6 separate regions of the Homo sapiens genome follow, and regions 1, 2, 4, 5 and 6 are each linked to region 3. The links are contacts of gene promoters, found by promoter capture Hi-C in human tissues and cell types (Jung and others, 2019). All regions are on one chromosome and are shown on one strand. Each heading gives the region's core, a stretch centred on a gene start or on the middle of the fragment in contact. The rest is flanking DNA. Distances are from core to core; before and after follow the strand shown.

Region 1 (4,022 bases), core at 1,014-3,513, 300 kb after region 3:
ATGGTGGTTGCCAGGGGATGGGAAGAGTTATTATTTAATGAGTACAAAGTTTCAGTTTTATAAGATGAAAAAGTACTATAGAAGGATGGTGGTGATGGTTGCACAATAATGCGAATGTACTAAATGCGCTGAACTATATACTTGAAAATGATTAAAATGGTAAATTTTGTTATATATATTTTACAATTAAAAACAAAGAAAAACACCTTGAAGGAGGTTTCTATAAGAACAGTCTGTGTAATGTCTCTGCGGCACAATTTGTTAGAGTGTTCTGCTGTTAATGGAAAGGTTGGTGGTTGAAGAACAGTCTGTGTAAATAGTGGCAATGTCAGTGACTACATTTCATGTCACAGTCTAGCACAAATAAATGTTAGGTACACGAAGGGAGGGAAAACTGGGTGCCATAGATCTAGAAAGTCACCAGACAGGGAGAAGGCAAGTCAGGTGGGATCTATTAGGCTTACTGTAAGACTACTGATCCCAAATCCTTACCCAAGATGCTTTTGGGCTGGGACGATAAGGGAAGTAGGCTTGCACTCAGTCCACAACATCTACCCAGGGAACTGGGGAAGGAGGCAGTGCCTATAGTCCAGATATGAGGACAGAGCTGCTCCTGAGGAAAAGGAGAAACAGAGAGCCTAGTCCAGGGCACAAGGGTGAGTATGAGGGCCTTACCCAGGGAGGACGTAAGTGCAAAGTTCTCCAGCATCACATCGAAGTACAGGTGTTTCTGAGCCTCATCAAGGAGATCCCATTCCTCCCAGGAGAAGTACACGGCCACATCTTCAAAGGTCACACTTCCCTAGCATAATAGGGATTGATGAAACCATGAACAGTCTCAATTTGGAAGACTCAAAATCCATGTCCCCATACATTCTCCTCCCAAGATCCCCAAGTCAGAAGAGACACCAGACCTTGGTGTCATTGATCCCTGCTGTCTCTTCACATTCCCATTAGTCACTGTGTTCATTCTGTTTTCCACTCTGTATCCTGTCAACACTTGGGTTAGATAAATCTCCCTCCTCTGATCCCAAACTCCAACTTCCTCACAATAGATGCCAAACTTCACAGAAATAAAGGAAACCTGCAGTTCCCTGAACCAGCTCAGCCTCACCTCCAAGGAGTTCCAAAAGCTGGTACCTACCTGTTTCTATCATAAATTTTCACCCATCTTTCCATTGGCTGCTCCAAATGGAAACATTGGCCTGGACTCAGGGCCCTTAGCTCAGGGATTCTCCAGGGTTCCCAAACCAAACGCTGAGAGAATGGTAGGTGAGTCCCATGACACCACAAATCTAAAGAAAATATCTGTCTGGGGAGGGTGGAGGGACATTCCAGACCAGTGAGGGGCTGAGATACCTCCACTTACCTGTGTAAGTTTGAAAAGCACCTCTGTAGCTATGGGAACCTGTGGAAAGACGCAGGCCTCAGAGGAATGTGATCATGGCAGTGCTCCATGGGCACAGGCCTTCCCTGTACCCTTGCCCCGGCCCAGAGCCACGTAACTTTGGGTCGACTGTCTAACCTGTGCGCCTCGGTCCTTAGTGCTGCCTCTCACCAGTTGTGTGGCCTTGGAAAAATATTCAACCTCCCTCTGCCTCAACGTCCTCATCCATCTCTAAAGTCTTTTCTTCCACTGAACAGCCTGCAGAGGATTTTTCAAATTTAACTCAGATGGTGTCTCTCGTTTGCGCAAGCTCTCTATGGCTCCCACGGCCCTAAGAATAAAGGTAGATCTCTCTCAAACTTTGTTCCCTGCAGTAACAATGTGGAGCCCAGGTTCCTGAATGCCCCCTTCTCGGTTGCCCGTCCAAGCCCTGCACGCGCCGGTCCTGTCCCTTGTCCCCCTGCCCACCACATCGGATGTCAGAAATAGGGGCCCCACCCACGAGCCTCAGTGTCCCCGACCCTGTGCTACAGAGACGTGAGCTGGTGCCTCTCACTTGGGACTTAAGAATCTCGGCCGGGGGAGGCCCGGAGATCGCAGCGCTCACCGAAGCCGGGTCCCTCAGTGCGGTCGCCATCCGAGTCTGTGGGCGGAGCTGGACCGGGAGCTGCGGGCGACCCGGGGGGAACCCGAGCATCGCTATCCCCAGGCCGGCCTCGCGGGCGGCTCTGCCCCCGACCCTCAGACCTGACTCTCGCGCCTTCACGGTCCGTCACTTCGATCCCGATGCAGCGTACCAAAGCGGCTGACAGACAGAACGGACCTCCGGGAGGGCAGCCAAAATGACCGCTGCGAAGACGCCACAAGTCCCGCCCTGGGGGGGGCGGGGGTAGACCCACACGGAAATGCCCCTGTCTTGGATTTTCATTGGATCAAAGTACTGCCGCTCGACGCAAGGCTTTCTGGGTAATGTAGTCTCCCCCAGGCTGCGACGGAGGGCGCCTTGTGTGCAGACAGCTGGGAGCGCTAGGAAGCTGCGTCTGCTGCCTTCCAGGGCGACTGAGGGGCTTCGGTGTTTGAGGTCTTAAGTAGGTTGACACTTGAACAACACAGGTTTGAGCTGTGCGGGTCCATTTACACGTAGGCGTTTTTTTTCCCCAATAAACGTTACTTCGAGTGTGCTCCTTTTCCTGCCTCTTCCAGCTCCCCGACCTCTTGCCCCAGAGACAGCAAGACCTCATTCTCTTGCCCAGCATGAAGAACACAAGGATGAAGACCTTTATGATGATCCACTTCCACTTAATGATTAGTAAATGTATTTTCCCTTCCGTATTCTTTTATTTTCCTTTTTTTAATTGGGTGTAATGTCAACGAGCCTCTTACAATTTTCCTGATACCCTTTCTCTGGTCTGTTTTAGTACAAGTATAGTTCTTATACTAAAATATATATAATGCATATATCATACAAAATGCATATATCATATATATTATGCATATATCATGCATATATCATACAAAATGTGTTAATCGACTGGGAGTTTATGTAATTCATAAGGCTTCCGGGCAACTTCATAAGGCTTCCGGGCAACAGTTGGCTATTAGTAGTTAAGACCTAGGGGAGTCAAAAGTAATACAAGCATTTTCAATTCCGCAGGGGTCGGTATCCCTGACCCCTGCGTCGTTTAAGGGTCAGCTGTATATCAGTCTCTAGTGTAGAGGTTCACTTCAGTATTTAGACATCATTTCAGATTCCATGCAGCCCACCCCAGCAGATCTCCACTGGTAGTGGGAAGCGAAAAAACGTTATCTTATTGCTCTTCAAATGCATGCAGCCTGAAGTGTTAAAGTCACTTTTTGTAGGTTTTGTCAGGGACAAAAGACACCAGACAGGGCTACAATGGGAAGATAGTGGAGGGATAGTGGGCAGCCCTGAAGCCAACGGACAAGGGAAGTTCCCTGCTTCTGGTGCCCCCAGAAAACGCTCTCCTGCCTGCAAAGTCAGTTTTGTTCATAAAACATGAAGCTTTAATACATGAATGTTCATTTTCCTTGTATAATCAAAACATTTAATTTTTTTTTGAGACAGGGTCTCACTCTGTTGTCCAGGCTGGAGTACAGTGGAACAATCATAGCTCATTGCAGCCTCCACTTCCTGGGCTCAAGTGATCCTCCCACCTCAGCCTCTTGAGTAGCTGGCACTACAAGCACACCACCACACCCGGCTAGTTAAAAAAAAAATTATTGTAGGAATGGAGTCTCCCTATAGGGCCCAGGCTAGTCTCAAACTCCTAGGGCCATGCAATCTTCTTGCCTCAGCCTCCCAAACTGCTGAGATTACAAGCATGAGTCACCATGCCCAGACAAAAGTTTTTAATGCATAAAATATCAAATTATTATCATTATTTTAAACAGGGCCTCACTCCGTCGCCCAGAAAGTTTATATTATTTTAAGGTACATATATGCACATTGTTAAATGTACACATATACATTTTATATATATTAGATAGATCAAATTTTACGTTTCACAATAAAAATGATCCTTTAGGACAAATTAATACCAGTAAAATAAAATAAAATTAAAAGTTGTGAAATGATTTTATCAAATATATAATGTATTTGTTTACACATTTACTA
Region 2 (4,024 bases), core at 1,017-3,516, 290 kb before region 3:
TTAACATCCTTGGCCTGAGGCCCACCTCTTGGCCTCTCTGATCTGTTTGTTCTGTGCAATCTGCCTATGCCCTTGACTGCCCTCTCTGCCCAACCCTGCTAGTTTCTGAGTTCTGGGTGGTATAGGAGTTCAGGAACACCAGTATCCACTCAGTCACTATCCCCTTACAGCTGCGAGCTCATGCTCTCACACCCTACTTCAGTCCCCTCCCACCACTGTCCTCTCTGTGCAGACAAATCGGCCTTTTAATTCACTCCAAGGGATGACTCTGGACTCTTTCAACCTCCTGGCACACAAACTCCTGCAGGCCTGCACTCATTAGTAGCTCCCTTCAAATTCTGAGCTGAGATGTCTTCTCCCTGGTCAAGATGAATCCATATCCCAGTGCCCCACCCCCTGCCTCTTCTCCTCTCAGGTGAGGCCTGAACAGAGTGACCAACACTCTCAGTTTCCCCCTCCTCATCTTGCCCATCCTGCTCTGCTCTCTCACTCCCAAACACACACACAAACACAAATGTAGACCACATCCAAGAGGTCTGCCCAATATCTTATGTGTTACTATCTTGTCCTGATGCTCCTGGCCTTCCCTGGGGAATCTCTCACTGCCTGTGTCCATCTTTGCTCTCTAACCCTGTCCTTCCTTGTCTGGAGGCATCCAAGGGCAACGGCTGAGAACACTCACTTTGCAACCTGCTGTCAAAGTACTGGCTCCATTACCTGCCACTGTAGGACTCTGAACGGGTCTCTTTAACCTCTCCAGGCCTCAGTTTCCTCATCCGTAGACATCTGGAAAAACAGCAAGACCTGCCTTGTGAGGATGCTAAAAGAATTAATTGAGTTGCATTTACAGAGCTTAACATTGTGTTAACCTGCAAAAGGGGCACAACACATGTATTCATAGTGATTATACTTGGACATAAAATTCCCCATCTGTTCCTCATACTGGACCTGTATGGTGGCTGATCTGGCAGAAGTCCCTCTGGCTGCAGGGCTGGGGAGGGAGTTGCTTTCTCTTTCCTTTTCCAGTTTTCTCCTTCCCTGCTTGTGGGGTGACGTTTCCAATCTGCTCCAGGTTACGTGTCCAGCCCAAACCTCCTGGGCTTCCTGCCACTGCCATTCCCTCCTCCACATTCAGCCATGTCACCCACATGCTCCTCAACTCCCATGCAGAGACTGACCAGGCATACCACATCTTCCTTGCACTGTGACTTCTACCCTGGCTCCACGCTGGAAACAGAAACACAGTCTTCCTCCACTCCTTCCTGTCTTTTGGCATCCCTCCTTACACGGAGTCATTTCCACAATCAGATGTTTCCCTACTCCCTTAGACTCTTGAAATCCAACCCCATGCCTTCCTCATTAGCACTGCCTTGTACGGTCCCCATCAAATATCACCCAACACAAATGGAACCCCGATCCCTAACTTACAGGCGTTACATACACATCCCATCCTGTTCACCTCTGTAGTCTCTCTATGGGGTGCACCAGCATCGCTTAACCAGTGCAGGCCCCCAACACCCCAGTTACCCCTGCCCTGCGTGGACTGGCCTTAATCTTCTGTTCACTTGGAAAATACACATGTTCTCTGCAAGGTTCAAGCTTCACGTACCATTGGAAGAAAATGTGTCCACGTCTGGAGCTGGGATGACCTCTGGGGTCCAATAGGCGTCACCTGCCTGGTGCCGCTGTGCCAGGAGGCTCTTGGCTGCCACCTGTGGATAAGCCGCAGAAGATGAGTTGAGGGAGGAAAAAGGAGCCGGGAGAGGCCCGCTGGGTCGGCAGCCCCAGAGCTCCAGACGCCAGCCTGAATCCCCCGCCCCTGCAGCCCTCGACCCAGGCACCCTCTGTCGGGAGGGCCCACCCAGTCCCACCCAGTCCCACCCAGTCCCACCCAGTCCCACCCAGTTCCACCCCTGCCCGTACCTGCGAGGTACTATAAGTTCCCTCCCAGCTCTGCAGCAGGAGAGCCTCCCGACAAGCTCAGACCCAGCCGGGCGCTCCTGCAGGGGAAACCTGACTGGACCGGCCTTCCCCGTCCCTGAGGCCGGAGAGATCCCGATCCCATCAGGCCCCTGCCCTTGCTCGGCCTCGCCGCATGAGGGACCCCCGCAGGCCCTGCTCGTTTCTCCGGCACGCCCAGATCACTTGGGGCGGCTCTGGCCTGGTCCTGCGCTCCGGCCGCACCCGGCTAACAGTGAAACCTCCGAGCCAACCTTGAGGCCGCCAGACTCACCTGCACGCACCGGCCAATGGCGGTGCTTCCGGTGGCCGGCGGACGTGCCCGCGCTCCGCGCAACAAACAACTCCCAGAAGGCCGCGCGCCGGTAGCCGTTGCTCCCACAGGCATAGTCATTGCCGGCGGGAGCATGGGGCCCCGCGGCGGCGGGATGAGCTTTTTCCTGTGTTCGCGACTAGCATTGTGGCTTAGGGAGTTGCTTCCCGCGGCTCTGCTCCTTGCAGCGCCTGTCCCCTCCCCCTTAAACGGGCCACGCTGGTTCTCATCCAGCAACCGAAGCCGAGACTGTGGAGGCGGCGGTCGGCGTCCAGGGCGGGACTAGCGCCTATGGGGCTCGGCGCTGTCATCTCGGGTGCCTTCCCGGCGCCTTGCCCTGCTGGGGAGAGAGACCAAGACTGAGCCATGAGAACAGTCCAAGGCCGTTAACCGGGAGCTCAGGGGCAAGGGCGCCCGCCAACATCTGCGCCTGTGGCAGGGACTCAGGGACAGCCTGGGCGTGGGGACGCGTCCTAGTGATAGAAACAAAGCCCCGGGAGTGCCCTGCTTGGAGCATTCCGAGTGGAAGGTGGAAGCACGCTAACTGGAGGCGATTCGTCCTAGGTGATCGCTCAGTCGAGCCTATTTGGCTTTCTGTGGTAGCTCCTAAGTGGGACAGGGAAAAAAATAGGGAGGCTGGCAGTGACCAAGTTCTGTTTTGTACCTATTGCTGCAGAAGTTGTGGGACAGAGTTCTGTTATTATAAATGGTCTGATGTTCAGTCTCAGTGCGTTGTGGGGCTCAATGTCTGAGACCCACCACCGCCTGACCCGTCCTGGCTCTTCAATGAGGGAGACCACAGGAAACTTTCCTACGAAGGCCAGGTAGGCGGGAACCACTGTGGCTCAGGCACCCTCAGCTCCTGGACTGTGCTTTTGTGTCTGGGGTGCATCTGTGACTAGCCTTCCTTGGCTTGACTGTTTTGTAGCTGACCTTGTCGATAGCTTTACCCAACAGTCATCATCTTTTTACTTGCTTATTTTCATACCTGGCTAGCACGACCCTGCAATTTTTAGATTCTTCCGGGAAATCTAGAATCTAACTCCCTAAGGGAGGATCTTGATGGATTCTAAGCTAATCAGAATGGACTCAAGCTTCTTGCTGTGTGAATTAGGCAAGGATATTCTGGCCAAGGAGAAATAAGGCTGCTAGGGGTTTCCTGGGAAGGTTCCCTCAGTCTTTTTTTTTTTTTTTTTTTTTTTTTTTTTTTGTGAGACGGAGTCTCGCTCTGTCCACCAGGCTGGAGTGCAGTGGTACGATCTAGGCCCACGGCACTCTCCGCCTTCCGGGTTCACGCCTTTCTCCTGCCTCAGCCTCCCGAGTAGCTGGGACTACAGGCGCCCGCCACCACGCCCGGCTAATTTTTTGTAATTTTTCTTTTTTAGTAGAGACGGTGTTTCTCCCTGTTAGCCAGGATGGTCTCGATCTCCTGACCTCATGATCCACCCGCCTCGGCCTCCCAAAGTGCTGGCATTACAGGCATGAGCCACCGCTCCCGGCCGGTTCCCTCAGTCTTAAAAGTGGACATAAGATAGCAATGTGTCTTCTTTTGCCCCTGGACCGTGATGTCTGTATGTGATGTGTAGGACAATTACAAGCACACTGGCACCATGAGGAAGCCACCCCAGGAGGTAAAGGCAACATGCTGAGAATGGCACAGCAGAAAAATGGAAAGAACCAGTATCCATGATGGAATGAATCCTCTTTGTGCCACTGAATCAACATTGCCTATGCTCACCTCAGGGACTTTTC
Region 3 (3,917 bases), core at 790-3,289:
ACTGAAAATACAAAAATTAGCTGAGTGTGGTGGCAGGCACCTGTAATCCCAGCTACTTGGGAGGCTGAGGCAGGAGAATGAATTGCTTGACCCAGGAGGAGGAGGTTGCAGTGAGCTGAAACTGTGCCATTGTACTCCAGCCTGGACAACAAGAGTGAAACTCCTTCTCAAAACAAACAAACAAACAAACAAACACCTGTAAAGTCAGCTGGGAGCAGTGACTTATGCCTGTAATGTCAGCATTGTGGGAGAAGGAGGCAGGCAGGTCAGAGGTCAAGAGTTTGAGACCAGTCTGGCCAACATGGTGAAACCTTGTCTCTACTAAAAATACAAAAATTAGCTGGGCGTGGTGGCAGGCATCTGTTATCCCAGCTACTTGGGAGACTGAGGCAGGAGAATCGCTTGAACCCGGGAGGTGGAGGTTGCAGTGAGCCAAGATGGCGCCACTGCACTCCAGTCTGGGACAGAACGAGACTTTGTCTCAAAAAAAAAAAAAAAAAAAAAGAAAGAAAAACTTCTGTGAAGTGTAAATTTTTTTCACCATCCACTCATGTTTCAATTGACCTATTTCTGTCATCGCAGTTATTAGATAGTCGTTGGTAATAAGTTTCTGTAACTGGCATTTCACCTGTTTTTCTGGTATCATATTAGTTCCTCATGCAGAACACTCCCCGCTGTCACAAGAGAAACAAATGATAATCACTTCCCAGGAAAGATAACAAGCTCGATAATTTAACATACGCCTAGTGTCTCCAGGTGGAGATTATCACCACCATTACCAATACCAAGCTGAGATTTCTCTTTCATTGTTCTTTACCTGAGACTGACTTCAAGTTCCTAAAATGAGTTGAAAATATAAGTTAGAATACCAAGTAAGGGATATTACATGAATAAATGTTTTGCTGAATGAATTGGACACAATAATTGACTATATAAGCAGGAGAGTTGTTTTTCCATGGGAACGACTGATTGACCTTTGTACTCTTTCTTTAGCCTCTCCTCTATCTTCCTTGGCATGGTCCTATCTGGATTAGTTCTCTTTTGTCCCTGGCAGACTGAAAAACCAACTCTAATGCCTCAGAGTGAGGCAGGAGAATAGGGAATTAGGGTAACCAAGAATGAAGGCATAAGCAAAAGAACAGCAGGTGCAGCTAGTTCTAGGCAAGATGAGGCAGCACACAGGCCACGTCCTCACTCCTGTGGTAACAAGACAGAAGTCTCCACTTCAGCCTCTGATTGGTTGTGCACCAGTCCTTCATAGGATTGGAGGCCTTTAAAGAACTCTTGGGGTATTATAAAATTCTAGCTTATTCATGGCAAAAACCGCAATTACTTTTGCACCAACCTAATAAAACCCTAAAAAACATTGTAATCGGGGTTCTTGAGCCGCTTGGTCGCCTGCTCCCACACCTACATTCCACTTCTGTGGAGTGTACTTTCCCCTCAATAAATCTGCGCTTTCATTGGTCCGTTCTTTCGTTGCTTTTTTTGTGTGTTTTGTTCACTTCTTTGTTCAATGCGCCAACAACTGGACAACTCACAGCCAAGACATTCTATCCGGTAACAAGAGTGCATTCATGTGAATTATAACAGAGTAATGTTTATCAGCCTCTGCTTCCAGTGCAAGCATTCTGTGTCTAAACGATTGTATAAAGTGATACACGAATTTGGATTTGTAGCCTTTGGGGGCCTTCACAGTATTTTTAGCGCCTGGGAGCTTGAATTTACAGAAATGTGAATTAATATTTTTGCAAACACTTAGGTGGTCAGTTACAAACAGGGATTCCCCAGGAATCTCAATATGGCCTCTAAGGAGGGGCGAGACCATCCTCTGCCCTAAAAGGGTACGCGCTTTAATGAACCCCCTGAGGTAGGGCTGGGACTTCCCTGCAGAAGCGCCTTTGGGAAGCGGCAGCTTTACTACCTTGGAACCTGGGGAACTACATTACCCAGAAAGCTCTACATTGAATGACAGCGCAACAGAACCAGTAAGGGCTCAGAATAAAGGCGTTTCTGTGTGCGCACGTAACGTAGTGGCGGGATTCTCAGCGTTCTCTGGTAGCGACCATTTTGGTTAATGTTGGGTGTGTTTCTGCGGTTTGTGAGGTGAGAGGCGCTGGAGCTATGGGTCCGAACCGCGGTGTCTGAACCCAGAAGGTGAAGAGTCCTTCTTGCTGCACAGAGGCAGATCTTAGGCCCCGTAACGGCGCCCGCCGCTCCCGGCAGTGCTTTCCCCGCGTACTCGGGATGGCGGCGGCCGCGCTGAGGCTCCCGGCTCAGGTAATTGTGCCTTCCCTGCCCTCAGGTCACCTCATCCTAACCCGAATCCTGAAGCAGCGAGAGAGCGGCGACTGTTCACAGGTCTGCAGCCCGGACCCGGCGTCGGGACACTGAGGCGTTCGCGGGAGAGGTCCTTGTTTCTGACACCTGTGGGATGCGGTGGGGAGAGCGACAGGCACAGGGACCGGCGCGGGCTATGGCCTGGAGGACAGACCCGGGAGGATGGAACCTGGGGTCCACAGGCGCCTGTAGGGAACAACGTGTGAGGCGAAGCTTCTCCTGGAAGAGCAGGCTGGGGGCTGTGTATTCGCTGTGAAGACGCTAGAAGCCATGGAGAGTTTCGAAGAAAGGAGGGATGCGATCCAAGTCCAGGCTTTTAAGGTTTCCCAAAGGCCAAAGGAAGAACATAGTAGAGGAGATGAGGACCTTAGGGTTCTGGGAGGTTGACTCCTTTGTTGATAGATCACATAGGTGGTAGAGATGACATTTTGCACTGAGACACGCAGGTCAACCAGTCTGAGGTCACCTGGCTCCAGCGATAAGAAAAGGTTCAAGGAGACCTGAGCTTATCAGATCCCCTTTGTAACGTCTGCTTTCCCCTCAGACACTCCTGGCTACAAAAGCACGTAAAGAACCCACTGAGGGGGTCGGGCAAGGTGGCTCCCACCTGTAATCCCAGCACTTTGGGAGGCCGAGGCGGGCGGATCACCTGAGGTCGGGAGTTCGAGACCAGCCTGACCAACATGGAGAAACCCCGTCTCTAACAAAAATACAAAATTAGCCAGGCGTGGTGATGCCGCATGACTGTAATCCCAGCTACTCAGAGGCTAAGGCAGGAGAATTGCTTGAACTCGGGAGGCAGAGGTTGCGGTGAGCCATTGCACTCCGGCCTGGGCAACAAGAGCGAAACTCTGGCTCAAAAAAAGGAACCCACAGAGGGAATTAGAGGGTGTTCCATTCCCTCACTGGCCTTATTCCCCATTCACATGTTCTCTAGCTTGTGATGTCCTGGGACTCTTACTTGCCATTTTTTCAGTCCTTTGATCTGAGAACACTGGAGAAACCCTAAACCCAGAATCCTAAGTCCATGACACAGGATGTATGGAGGTATTCCCATTTCTGTCAACCCATGTAAACATACTTTGAAGGTTAACTACAGAGTTGGTACCAGGTCATGAAATGCTTAGAGGTAAAAATTCGGTGGGGAGGCAAGAGGGCGGCGAGGAGGTGATGTTACCACAGTCCCATTTGTCTGCAGGCATCATCTGGCTGCAAAGAAGAGAACACACTGTGTTTGAGGGAGGAGGAAGGAGGATCAGAGTTTAAACTCCTGCCATAATGCAGGTGAGGGTTACTGGACCATATTAATGAGTAAGGAGCTGTGGCTGGATTCAAGATTCACAGTTTGTAAAATGGCAACTAGATTTTCCTTTTTTTTTTGAGCGGGAGTCTCGCTCTATCGCCCAGGCTGGAGTGCAGTGGCACGATCTTGGCTCATTGCAAGCTCTGCCTCCCGGGTTCACGCCATTCTCCTGCCTCAACCTCCCGAGTAGCTGGGACTACAGGCGCCCGTCACCATGCTCAGCTAATTTTTTGGATTTTTTAGTAGAGACGGTTTCACTGTGTTAGCCAGGATA
Region 4 (4,445 bases), core at 775-3,274, 260 kb after region 3:
GCCTCTCATTCCTGTGTCTTCTCTGGTGAGCTAATAAGTGACAGAGATACTTAAAGACCTTGGGGCATTCTTCACATTTGTATGATTTTTGGACTCCATGGGATCCTTTCTGATGTACCTCACATGTGGAATTTCCCTCATTGCTCTGGTGGGTAAGGGCAGACTCAGGGGAGGACTGCTCTGGTTGAGAGATACACCCTGCTCCCATCACCATAGGGACACCTTGGAAAGTGATTCCATTTATGGACCCTTCCTGAGATCTAGCAGTGACTAGCTCTGCTCTTTTTGAGTTGTATGGGTTGTCAGAAGAAACACCTCCCTCTTCAGGCCTAGGACCGTTCTCTTCCTGGATGATGATTAGGGAAACTATTTGATTGCCTTGATTAGTAATATTTTCATTTACTCGAGTAGTTTTCGAAGAACTGTTCCAGCCATCTTGTTCATCTTCATATCCTGTGAAAATAGACACTCAATGAAGTTGTACTTAAGAAGGGGTCCACATAGAACACTCCTCAGTTGTGCAGATTCACCTGACTTACCTTGTCCTGTTTCTAAGGAAGTATCTTGGGAAGTCTGGGAGGGTGTCCCCATGTTTGCTTCTCTTGTGGTTTGGGCATTCACTTGTTTTGTGAGATGAACAATGACATCTCTTAAGGGCATATCCTCAGAAAAGAGAGCTTCCTGTCCCTGCATGTGGACGTGGACCTGTAAAGAAAGCCAGATCACTGTTGTATCTGAATCTGTTGTGTAACAGAAGACTTTTTGGAAAAGTGGTCCTTAACAGGCTCTCACAAGCTCCCTCAAGTATTGGCTATCACATATTTTGTCCACCATCTCTGATGGTGTTATTCTTGTTACTACAAGCTCTTATGTTTAATAAAGTCACATGGACATTGAATTTACAAGTACTGAATCATTTCCCCTAGGAAAAATTCAGGGTTAGTTTCCTGTGAGCTTCTGGCTACATTATTTTTGTCAACTGATCAATACATGAGTTTGTTTTATGTGTGTATATGTTCAAAGACACCCCATTTAATATATATTATTGATTAATCCTGAACTCAGAGGATCCAACACATGTATTATCTCCATAATACATAGCAACTTTCCTGCACTTAGGAAGACTAGACAGTGTTTCAGCATTTTACTTCAGTGTCACTTTAAACAACAAAGTTATCAATAAAAAGCAAAAAAAAAAATGTGCCACTAAATAGACTGTGAAAAGGACACTTATTTACACTGTAGGAACCAAAATAGGAAGTGAGGTTGTGGCCTTGTTCAACCTCACCTGGAAACATGCACCTAAGGTAAATCAAATATTTTACCACCTGCACATATCTGAAAATGACGGAGAAGATGCCTCAGGTATTTATTTTAAGCTTACAAATAAATTTTAGCAATTTTGCAAATATGGGCTCTGAGAATAAGGATCTACCGTAATTGCTTCTTTAGAATGTCTTTCTTGATTAGAGTTCCCTGACAGAAGAACAAGCTCTTGTCAAGACATTTCTTCCTCAACCTTGATGTCTTCATTTAAATGTCAATTTCAGGCTGGTCTCACACCTGTAATCCTAGCACTTTGGGAGGCCAAGGCAGGCGGATCACTTGAGGCCAGGAGTTCGAGACCGCCTGGCCAACATGGTGGAACGCTGTCTCTATTAAAAATACAAAAATTAGCCGGCCTTGGTGGAGCACGCCTGTAATCCCAGCTACTCTGGAGGCTGAGCCACGAGAATGACTTGTGCCTGGGAGGCATAGGTTGCAGTGAGCTGATATCATGCCAAAAAGTCAATTTCTCAGAGTCTGCCATTATGCAGACTAAAATTAAGTTAATCAAACATCAATATGTTTGGCTCCTATATGTCCTACAGAATAAACAGATATATACCTTTTTGCTTTTTTTCTTGAGAACTTAGGACATTGAAGATTATTCTTTGTGAGAATGGTGGGAGAGTGTGAGCTGACTAATAACTGGACCTCCAATAGCTTCTCTAACTTCCAGACAACTCTAACTGACTGTGATTTATTCCTTACTTTCCTTTGTCTCTCATCCCAGAAGTTAGAACCCTGTACTCACTAAGGCAGGTGGATTTATGCTGTCATCAGTCAGGTCTTCTATGAATCTCTCCAAGTTTTTGCCACTTGATTTCCATTTCTCTTTCACACTGGCTTTGTCATTGCAGTGGCCACCAATCATAAACTGCTCCAGGACTAATAGAGAAATAATTTCATCCTTGCTGTGCTTTTCTGGTTGCAGCCATGAGTGAAAGATCCTATAAAGTCTTTGCAATTCCTGCCTTGCATATGAATTATTGCTGTCTTGAAATGAATTGAGCACCATTCTTGAGAACTCAGAAATCCCTTCTTCTCTCTGAACAGCAGGTCCTTGGCTTTGTTGAAACGCTGAATTTTCTGATCCAAGATTATTCTCGGATGGTTCACACTGAAATATGGTTCTTAGATCTAAAGCCATTCTTAGCAATAATTCTCAGAGAGACTTTACTTTGATGATTCAGTCTCTTGCCTTGTGTCTCTAGGGATTTGTTTCAACAGTTGGTGGATTCTTTAAAACTGCAAGCTAGAAATAGAAAAGAGATGAGTAATTAATTGCACCACTGGCATAATTAAAGACAAATCAACCAAAAAGTTAGGCCTACATGGCTCTATGGATGAATTCAAAGAAATAATTATAACTTAACATAAACTCTCCCAGAGCATATAAGAGGAAGCACTACCCACTTTAGTTACTGAGGTCAGCACTTCCTGATAACAAAATTTTACAAATACATTAAAATTATCCAAAACAAAATATTTGAAAATAAAATCTACTCACATATACATCGCAAATGGTGTTCATTTCCAAAATGCAGGAAGTTTGGGTTAAAATTCAAAAATCAATGCAATTTACTTCGTTAACGGGATATGGATACAAGAACATAATAAAATCATCTCAATGAATGCATTTAAAATGTTTAAATGCCAATGTTTATTCCTGAAAAAGGCACTTAATAAACTAGAACTATTAGGAAATATCCTTGGCTGGGCACAGTGGCTCACTCCTATAATCCCAGAACTGTGGGAGGCCGAGGAGGGCGGATCACTTGAGGTCAGGAGTTCGAGACTAGCCTGGCCAACATGGTGAGGCACCATCTCTACTAAAAATACAAAACTTGCCGGGTGTGGTTGCTCATGCCTGTAATCCCAACACTTTGGGAGGCTGAGGCAGGTGGATCACCTGAGGTCAGGATTTCGAGACCAGCCTGACCAATATGGTGAAACCCCATCTCTACTAAAAATACAAAAATCAGCCAGGCATGATGGCATGCACCTGTAGTCCTAGCTACTCAGGAGGCTGAGATGGGAGAATTGCTTGAGCCCGGGAGGTGGAGATTGCAGTGAGTCAAGATTGCGCCACTGCACTCCAGCCTGGCTGACAGAGCAAGACTCCGTCTCAAAAAAAAAAAAAAAAAAAAAAAAGCCACACGCACACACAAAACTTAGCTGGGTATGGTGGCACGTGCCTGTAAACCCAGCTACTTCAGTGGTGGAGGCAGGAGAATCCCTTGAACCCGGGAAGTGGGCGTGGCAATGAGCCAGGATCATGCCACTGAGCTCCTGCCTGGGTGACAGAGTGAGACTCTTAAAAAAAAAAAAAAAAAAAACTTGATGTGAAAAATATTTTATAAAGTAGTTACAACAAAATTTATTGTTAAAAGTTTTCTGCTTGAGCTATCATCTCTATGAAACATTGGATTGCTCCCTAACCAGTGAAATAAGGAAAGAAAATATTTCAAACATATTTATAGAGTCTTGATTTTGTTTACAAAGAGTATTCAATAAATTTGGTGGGGATGCAAATCAGTTAACCTCTATGGAAAACAGTATGGAGATTTCTCAGAGAACTAAAAATAGAACCATCATTTGATCCAGCTCAGTATCTACTCAAAAGGAAAGAAATCATTATATAAAAAAAGACACCTGCACTCATATTTTGATTGCAGCACTAGTCACAGGAGCAAAGTCATGGAACCAACCTAAGAGTCTACCAGTGGTTGACTGGATAAAGAAAATGTGAAATACATACCATGGAATATTATGCAGCCATAAAAAAGAATGAAATTAGTCCTTTGCAGCAACATAGTTGGAGCTGGAGGCCATTATCTTAAGTGAACTAACTCAGAAACAGAAAACCAAATACCGCATGTTCTCACTTATAAGTAGAAGCTAAACAGTGGGTACACATGGACATAAGGATGGAAATAACAGATGCTGGGGACTCCAGCGGGGGAGTTGGGAGGGAAATGGGTATTGAAAAATTACCCATTGGGTACAATGTTCACTATTTAAGTAATAGGTACACTAGAAGTCCAATTTCCACCAATATGCAGAATACTTTTGTAACAAACATGCACATGTACTCCCTGAATCTAAAATAAAATAAAATA
Region 5 (4,371 bases), core at 1,329-3,828, 310 kb before region 3:
TCGTGAAAAGGATTCATGTAAAAAAAGTAGAATGTACTTTTGGTAAAAGGCATGAGAATATGGATTTCTTGCCAAAGTTTGGAGGGTTAAAAGACAAGCTGTAGAAGGTTTATGAAAAATTAATTGTAGAAGGGATTCTGTGTGTGAATATATTGGCTAAAGTTAAAGGGGAAGACTGGCAATTAGACCTCACTGATATGCCAGCTTGCAAAGGATAAAAGTTTCTGCCAGTACTAACAGACACCTTTATTGGCTGGGTTGAAGTGTACCCTACCAGAACAGAGAAGTTTAATGAAGTTATAAAGGTTCTCTTAAAGGAAATAATCCCCTGGTTTGGGTTACCTCAAAGCCTCCAAAGTGATAACAGCCCATCTTTTGTCTCCCAAATAACTCAAGGGGTTGCTAAGGTTCTCAGAATCAACTATTATTTACATTCAGCATGGAGACCTCAATCCTCCAAAAAAGTGGAAAGAGCTTAGCTAACTCTAAAATAGGAGTTCCTATGTCAGGAAACATCAGAAACTTGGATCTGCTTACTGCCCATAGCCCTCTTAAGAATCCATAATTCCCCTAGAGAAAAAATTATTATGAGCCCACACAAATGTTATACAAAAGGCCATTTTTAACTAATGATCTAATCTCTGATCCAGAAACATCCAGTTTAGTAAAATACCTAGTTAACCTGGGATTATTTCAGCAGGCTTTACAAGAGTTTGGAACTCAAAAGCTCCCCACACCAGGAACTAACCACCAACCCAAAATCAGGCCAACAGACAAGGTACCTGTTAAAACATAGAAGGAGGGATCACCTGCTCAATAATTACAATCAAAGTGGAAGGGACCATTTTCAGTACTGGCCATGCCTTCTGGGGTCAAAGTACTAGGATTAGATAGTTGGATACATCTTTCTGGTGTCAAGCCTGTGTTATGTGAAGTCCCAGACCGGGAACCTGAAGCTCCCATCAGCCACTACACCTGTGACTTGTGAAAGACCTGAAGTACCTGTTTAAAAGACAGCCAAAAGATAAGTAAAAGCCTACCAACTTTCCTTGGTGTCTTTGTTGCTTAGTTACTTTAAACTGGATAATAGTAGCCATTGTTATACTTCTACAATTTAATTGCTTTCTTCTAAACAAATGGAATAACTTCCTTTGTAATAATTAAGCAAAGTGTTTTAATTAATTCTTATAACAAGCATTCCTGACAGCATAGGTATCCACCCCTGAAGTTCCTATTCTATAGCACAAAATAACAAATAAGTATTTTTTGGTTCCATAATGGTCACCCACAGCCTGTGTATACAGGACCACGCATAATGGGAATCAGCTTTATTTTACAACAGAGCTTCACTTTACCCCTCCAGCAGTTAATGGATTCTGGGTATTTATTAAAAACTTTACATTTAACTCAAAGACAGTTAAATACCACCAGCCCAGCTCTGGCAAAGACTGTTGGCTTTGGTTATCTCCAGCATCATTCAAATACACTACCACCCCAATCCCAGCCCAATCTTTGGCCTTGGGGAAAAAAACATGAACTACGATGACAGGACAAGCAGTAAACCTTCTCCAGTACTATCAGAGTACCCTTTCTGGGGTTGCATCCCACAGAAACCCATTTGGGGCCCAATATCAATGTACACAGAGCTAAAATTCCAGGTGCCACTTTGTATTAAGAGAAGCCAAAATTTTGGTCAGGCCCTGGGAACCTTGAAAAGTCATCAGTGTAACTACACCCTAGAGATTATTAACCCCTCACATGATTACATAAGCTAGGCAGTTACCCAGACTGTGTCATTTAGAAAACCTGTATGGTTTTCATGGAAACCATCCCTAGATAAGGACACTTCAAAGGATACACAGTCTAAGTACTGCCAAGGTAAGCCCACTAGCTATGATCATATTTTCCCTTGGGAAGACTGCACTAATCCTCAGACATCTAGTTATCTTTTGGTTCCCCAGTACGAAACACCTCTGGATGCTTGTTGGTAGACACTAAGCCTAATTACCTCCAATGGGAAAACAGAACTGCTGGGGCAACTCAGAATATTTCCCAAGGTCCTTTCCAGCCTTTAACTGGGGCCACCTTCATAGGGACCTTAACCACTTGGGAAAGTGAAAACAACAAGCTAACCCACATGTTTACCATAGAAAATTCTTGTCTTGAAAAACTAGGAGCCTTTTACCTGTGTGGAACTAGTTCTTACTTATGTTTACCAGCCAATTGGACTAGAACCTTTACACTTGTTTATTTAGCCTGTGAAATTAATATAGCTCCCAAGAACCAATCCCTCATTATACCTTTAACTGCAATTGCCAGACACAAATGAACCATCCAACTCACATCCCTTTTGGTAGGACTACAAATAACCGCGGGACTGGGAATGGGAGTCAGCCGGGTTGTAACATCCCTATCCTATTACCAATGCTTTTCCAAGGATTTTATGGAAAGCTTGAATGACATTGCCCAAAGTAAAAAAGAAAAAATAGAGACATTGGCCAAAGTATCATCACCATACGAAATCAAATAGATGCCTCAGCAGCAGTTGCTTGGCAAAACAGAAGGGGATGAGATCTCCTAACTGCTGTAAAGGGGGGCTTAGGTCTTTTTCTAGAGGAAGAATGCTGTTTTTATGCCGAACAATGAGGATTAGTAACAAATGCCACCCAAAAACTACCCAACTGGGCCTCTAAAATACAACAACAGCTATCTGAGTCATGGGGCTCCTGGTCAAAAATGCTAAGTTGGGGTTCATGGCTCCTTCCTCTGGCCAGCCCATTAGTAATGACTATACTTGCCTTGGTTTTTGGACCATGTTTGTTAAACTCTTAACCAAATTCATTTCCTGTCACCTAGAGACCATCAAGCTTCAGATGATCATGTGACAATGTTTCCAGCCAGTTCCAGGTGGAGACACCACCCCTGGCCATCAAGAAGCTATCCTGTCTCCACTAGACAGGGCGGGGAGAGAGTCCTGTGATTCCCCAGTACGTAGGGACTGTGCCTCAGGTCAGCATAAAGCAGTTACAGAAGAAAGACTATCAATCCCTTTACCTCCCATAAAGATTTATGAGGATCATGTCTTTCGGGGGGAAATGAGGTATGAGAACAGGGTATGGAGGCAAGAAACCTAAGGGTGATTAATGCTGACTTCCTGGAACTGAATCAAAAGGAAAACCCAAACTTTCCATGCCCCAAATAACAAAAGGATCAGAGGCAACCCCCGCCTTCTGTGTCGCAGATGAAAAATGGAAAGTACCTCTTCCTGCAACCAATGAGACTGGTCACTGGCCTAGTTTTCATCTGCATAGAGGTGTAACTTTGTAACTTCACTTCAGCCTCTGTTGGTCACCTTCCCCAACCAATCAGACTAGTTATGGGCCACTACTTCATTTACAGAGGATATAAACCAAGTAACCAATGGGAAACCTCTCGGGATTTAAACCCCAGAAAATTCTGTAACCAGTGCTCTTGAGCTGCTTGCTCCAGACCACTCCCATTGTGTGGAGTGTACTTTCATTTTGATAAATCTATGCTTTTTTTGCTTCATTCTTTCATTGTTTTATGCATTTTGTCCAATTCTTTGTTCAAAATGCCAAGAACCTGCACATCCTCCACCAGTAACACCAGGGGCTGGGGATGAGGGAGGGATGAATGGGTAGAGCACAGAGAATATTTAGGGTAGTGGAACTACTCTGTCTGATACTATAATGGTGGATACATGACATTGTACATTTGTCCAAATGCACAGAATATACAACATCAGGAGTGAAGCCTGGCCAGGTGCAGTGGCTCATACATGTAATCCCAGCACTTTGGGAGGCTGAGGTGGGAGGATCACTTGAGCCCAGGAGTTCAAGACAAGCCTGGGCAACACAGTGACACTCCATCTCTACAAAAAATTTTTACATTAGCCAGGCATGGTGGTGCATGCTGTGGCACCTGAGGCTGGGGTGCAGAGAGGTGGGAGGATCACTTAAGCCCAGAAGGCTTAAGCTATGACTGCATCACTGTCTCAAAAAAAAAAAAAAAAAAAGAAAAAAAAAAGCATGAACCCTATCATAAACTATGGACTTTGGGTGATAATGATGCCTCAAGGGCAAGGGGTAGTGGCTCACGCCTGTAATCCCAGCACTTTGGGAGGCTGAGGGGGGCGCATCATGAGGTCAGGAGATCGAGACCATCCTGGCCAACATGGTGAAACTCTGACTCTACTAAAAATACAAAAATTAGCTGGGCGTGGTGGTGCGTGCCTGTAGTCCCAGTTAGTTGGGAGGTTGAGGCAGGAAAATCACTTGAACCTGGGGGGCGGAGGTTGCAGTGAGCTGAGATCACACCACTGTACGCCAGCCTGGTGACAGAGTGAGACTC
Region 6 (4,186 bases), core at 1,558-4,057, 280 kb after region 3:
GTATATCAACACACAAAATTAAAAAGAAAATTGCCTACATGGAACTTAGACTTAGTTGATAGAAACAGACAGTAAGCAGTAAGCAAAGCACCCATGTTATTCGGCTGATAGTGTATTAGAAAATGATGGGTCCTATAGAGCAGGATACAGCTGAGAAGTAAAGTTGGTAAGGATGGGGTGAAACAGTAAATCAGGTGTTCATAGTAGGACTTACAGTGAAAATGACATTTAAGATATATTTTAAGGGGGCGAGGAACTTAGCTTTCTTTCTTCTTTACAGATTATATATTTCTTGTCTCACCTAATTGCATGAGACAGGACTTTCAATATAATTGACTATATGTGCAGACAGTGACCATCCTCCTTTGGTTTCTGGTCCCGAAAATATTTTAATAATGGACCATGAGTTATTGTATTTACTCTAGGATTTTGCAGATGTTCTTTATAAGATTAAGGAAGAGTATTTTTGAGAGCAATTTGGGAATATATTACTTCTTTTTTTTTTTTTTTTTTTTGAGACACAGTCTCACTCTGCTGCCCAGGCTGGAGTGCAATGGCATGATATTGGTACACTGCAACTTCTGTCTTCTGGGTTCAAGTGATTCTCCTGCCTCAGCCTCCCAAGTAGCTGGGATTACAGGCACGTGCCACCATGCCTAGCTAATTTTTGCCTTTTTAGTAGGGACGGGGTTTCGCCATGTTGGCCAAGCTAGTCTTGAACTCCTGATCTCAGGTGATCTACCTGCCTCGGCCTCCCAAAGTGCTGGGATTACAGGCCTGAGCCACTGCACCCGGCAGGAAGTATATTACTTCTTGAGCCGTGAATATTTTTGGTGTGTATTATTATTTTCCTTAAACAAATTTAGTGCAGTATAATACAAATAGGATGATCCCCAATTTCCAGTGTATAATTTGATGAGTGCTGACAAATATAAACAGCATGTAACCACTACCACAATCCTGATAGAGAAGGTTCTCCTCACCCTATGTACTCTTCTGCCCTTTGCAGTCCGCCCCTTCCTCCTAGGCCCAGATCTGAGGATCACTCATTTGCATTTTGCCACTTGAGTTTTACCATTTCTAGATTTTTATCTGAAAGAAATTTTACTCTGTATAGACCTCTGAGTTTGGTTCCTTCACTTGTGCTTTTGAGATTCAGATTAATGTTTTTTTCCCTCCTTGACATTTATGAGGAATATTCTATTTATAAATGTAACACAGTTACCCATTCAGATGTGCATAGACATTTGTTTTTGTTTTCCAGTCTTTAGCTTTGAAGAAAATTGTTGATAACACGCAAAATCAGTTGGCTTTCTATATCCATGGGTTCTGCATCTATAGATTCAACCCACTGCAAATTGAATATTTGGAAGAAAAATTGCATCTGTACTGAACATGCACAGACCTTTTTTGGGTCATTACTCCCTAAACAATACAACTATTGTGTAGCAGCTATTTAAACAGCATTTACACTGTATTAGGTGACAATGTATAGCAACTATTTAAACAGCATTTGCATTGTATTAGGTATTATAAGTAATTTAAATTATAATTTAAATTATGTGGGAGGATATACACAGGTTATATGCAAATACCACATCATATTATATAAGAGACTAGAACATCTTCAGGTTTTGGTATCCTTGGGGGTCCTGGAATCAGTCCCCCATGGATACTGAGGAATGATTATACAAGTATTTCTATGGACACGTTTCCATCTCTTGAGGTTATACTTAGGAATGAGATTAATTTATCAAATGATAAGTGGACAACTAACTTTAATAACGGCTACAGTGTTTTCCAAATTTATTTATTTTGCATTTCCACCAGCAATGTATGAGAGCTCCAGTTTATTTCATACCTTCAACAGCTAGGTGTGATCATTCGGTTAATGTTACTCATCAAAATGAGTATGTAGTGGTATCTCATTGTGGTTTTCATTTGTAGTTCCTTAAATAGTAATAATTCTGAACTTATTTTCATGCATTTATATACCATTCATATATCATCTTTAGTGAAAAATGTGTTCAAATATTTTGCCTTTTTTTTTTTTTTGACATGGAGTCTAGCTCTGTTGCAGACAGACGGAGGGCAGACGGAGTTTCACTCTTGTTGCCCAGGCTGGAGTACAGTGGCGCGATCTCAGCTGACTGCAACCTCTGCCTCCCGGGTTCAAGCAATTCTCCTGCCTCAGCCTCTTGAGTAGCTGGGATTACAGGTGCCTGCCACCACTCCTGGACACTCCCGGATAATTTTTGTATTTTTACTAGAGACGAGGTTTCACCATGTTGGCCAGGCTGATGTTGAACTCCTGTCCTCAAGTGATCCGCCTTCCTCAGCCCCCCAAAGCGTTGGAATTACAGCTATGATATCTCACCCTGTTGCCCAGGCTGGAGTGCAGTGATTTGATCATAGCTCACTGAAGCTTCGACCTCCCTGGAATCAGTGATCCTTCCATCTCAGCCTCCCAAGTAGCTGGGGCCACAGGCACACACCACCATGCCCAGCTTATTAGCTAATTTTTGTAGAAACAGTGTTTTGCCATGTTGCCCAGGCTGGTCTTGAACTTTTGCCTATTTTTAAATTGTGTTGTTTATGCTATTTGTAGGGATGTTTTACGTATTCTGAATACTCATCATTTATTAGATAGAGGTTTCACAAATATTTTTCCCAGGCTGTAGTTGGCCCTTTCCTTTTTTTACAGGGGGTATATGGGTGAAGTCAACTTGCCAGTCCTGTTCTGGGAAATGGCCTCATGCCTGATGAGTGGAGAAAGGAGGTGGTTTAAGAGCCCCTTCAGGGGAAGTCTGACCACAAACTGGGCAGACTGGTTAAACATTCAAGGTTGGTTGTCATGGTGGTGGAGTGTGTGTAAGTTTTTAAAAACTGGGGTATGTGGTAATAACCAGCATGGAAGTGGTTGTGGATGTGGGAGGGAATAGAGAGTTCTTGAGATTTGGGCAGGATGAGTTTGTGTCAAGATAACATCAGCCTTCCCTTTGGGTAGCCCCAGTGTTAGTTTGACTTGTTCCTCCTGGGTGTATGAGGGATGTCTGCTGGGAAAATGGACAACAGTGATGGGATGTTGTGGGCCACCTGCCAGGCTGCTGAGTCTGCCATAATGTTTCCCTTGGTTATGGCATCTGTAGCTCTCTGGTGTCCATTGCAATGGATAATGGTGGCCTCTAATGGTAGTTTAGCTACCTCCAGCAACCTGTGTATCAGTTTGCCATTTACTATGCAGGTCCCTTTGGTACTAAGAAAAGCTCTTTCCTGTGAGATTAAGGCTTGGGAGTGTAGAATGTGGTATGCATACTTACAGTTAGTGTAAATATTGACCCTTTTTCCTATTGCTAGGGTGAGGGCCCTAGTTAGGTCGACTAATTCTGCCTGTTAGGAGGTGGTAGGGGATGCGACAGTATTGGACTCTAGGAGCTTGTGTTTGGCAACGATGGTGTAGCCTGCTGCAAGACATGGCTCTTTAAAGGAGCTCCCATCAATGAACCATGTAGGTGTCCCCTGTAAGGGGGTCTCTGATATGTGTCGGAAAGGGAAGGAAAGGGAATCTAAAAAGTCCAAGCAGGAGTGACAGAGTTCAGAGTCAAAGGTCCTTATAGGGAAGAGGGTGGCTGGGTTGAGAACTTTACATCTTTGGTAGGTGATTAGAAGGTTGTTTATGTAGGAGGTGTGTGTTTGTTGTAAGTAAGATAGCAGGAGGGAAAGAAGGGAGCAATGACTCATGAGTTCCTGTAGGTTATGAGAAGGTGCAATGGTAATGTATTGATAGAGGGTGAGTTTTTGAGCTTCTGAGGCCAGCAGCATAGACACACATAAGATCCTTAAACAGGGTGGCCAACCTTAGATGACTGAGTTCAGTTGTTTTGAGAGATATACAATGGCTTGTGGGGTACCGCTGAATGTTTGACAGAGTAGCCCAAGAACAAGGCCTTGGTTAGAATGAACATACAGAGTAAAGGGCTTGTTGGGGTTGGGTAGTCCCAGTGCTGGCGACATTGAAAGGGCATTTTTCAGTTTTTTGAACTGGGAGTCAATGGTACAGACTGGATCCAGGTGTTCTAGGATGGGCCCACGTGATGTGGTGTACAGCAGCTTGGTCAGCAAGTTGGGAATCCATAGCCAGAAGTATCCCACAAGGCTCAAGAAGGAAAGGAGGTTCTTTGTATGA

The links. Contacts are between HindIII fragments. The study calls those that stand out against the background at their distance.
Region 1: the fragment with the promoter of ZNF211 here is called in contact with the fragment with the promoter of ZNF418 in region 3 in 3 of the 25 tissues and cell types used here (adrenal gland, liver and mesenchymal stem cells).
Region 2: the fragment with the promoter of ZNF544 here is called in contact with the fragment with the promoter of ZNF418 in region 3 in 1 of the 25 tissues and cell types used here (adrenal gland).
Region 4: a fragment that was not itself captured here is called in contact with the fragment with the promoter of ZNF418 in region 3 in 2 of the 25 tissues and cell types used here (IMR-90 fibroblasts and stomach).
Region 5: a fragment that was not itself captured here is called in contact with the fragment with the promoter of ZNF418 in region 3 in 2 of the 25 tissues and cell types used here (pancreas and spleen).
Region 6: a contact is called between a fragment that was not itself captured here and the fragment with the promoter of ZNF418 in region 3, in 3 of the 25 tissues and cell types used here (adrenal gland, lymphoblastoid cells and stomach).

What each region holds. Positions count from the first base shown.
Region 1 is chr19:57,631,409-57,635,430 of GRCh38, reverse strand. It overlaps ZNF211 (zinc finger protein 211), which reads right to left and starts at 2,263. Exons shown (of 4, transcript NM_006385.5): 1 at 1,995-2,263; 2 at 1,370-1,408; 3 at 676-802. The coding sequence starts at 2,084. RefSeq lists a silencer at 1,944-2,013 and enhancers at 2,454-2,503, 2,574-2,663. The HindIII fragment of the contact is 12,794 bases long and covers 1,256-4,022 here.
Region 2 is chr19:58,227,156-58,231,179 of GRCh38, reverse strand. It overlaps ZNF544 (zinc finger protein 544), which reads right to left and starts at 2,266. Exons shown (of 7, transcript NM_014480.4): 1 at 2,234-2,266; 2 at 1,610-1,712; 3 at 718-786. RefSeq lists an enhancer at 1,564-2,390. The HindIII fragment of the contact is 3,442 bases long and covers 494-3,935 here.
Region 3 is chr19:57,933,524-57,937,440 of GRCh38, reverse strand. It overlaps ZNF418 (zinc finger protein 418), which reads left to right and starts at 2,039. Exons shown (of 6, transcript NM_133460.3): 1 at 2,039-2,280; 2 at 3,539-3,624. The coding sequence starts at 3,619. RefSeq lists enhancers at 2,072-2,161, 1,754-2,636. The HindIII fragment of the contact is 9,006 bases long and covers 1-3,917 here.
Region 4 is chr19:57,674,174-57,678,618 of GRCh38, reverse strand. It overlaps ZSCAN4 (zinc finger and SCAN domain containing 4), which reads right to left. Exons shown (of 5, transcript NM_152677.4): 3 at 2,078-2,578; 4 at 540-705; 5 at 1-453. The coding sequence starts at 2,473. Among named protein-coding and RNA genes, the nearest start is that of ZNF551, 5.6 kb to the left of the region's middle. The HindIII fragment of the contact is 5,379 bases long and covers 1-4,445 here.
Region 5 is chr19:58,247,939-58,252,309 of GRCh38, reverse strand. The region is part of intron 6 of ZNF544 (zinc finger protein 544); the gene reads right to left. Among named protein-coding and RNA genes, the nearest start is that of ZNF544, 21 kb to the right of the region's middle. The HindIII fragment of the contact is 5,984 bases long and covers 1-4,371 here.
Region 6 is chr19:57,655,163-57,659,348 of GRCh38, reverse strand. It overlaps a transcript of ZSCAN4 not described here. Among named protein-coding and RNA genes, the nearest start is that of ZSCAN4, 12 kb to the left of the region's middle. The HindIII fragment of the contact is 8,692 bases long and covers 1-4,186 here.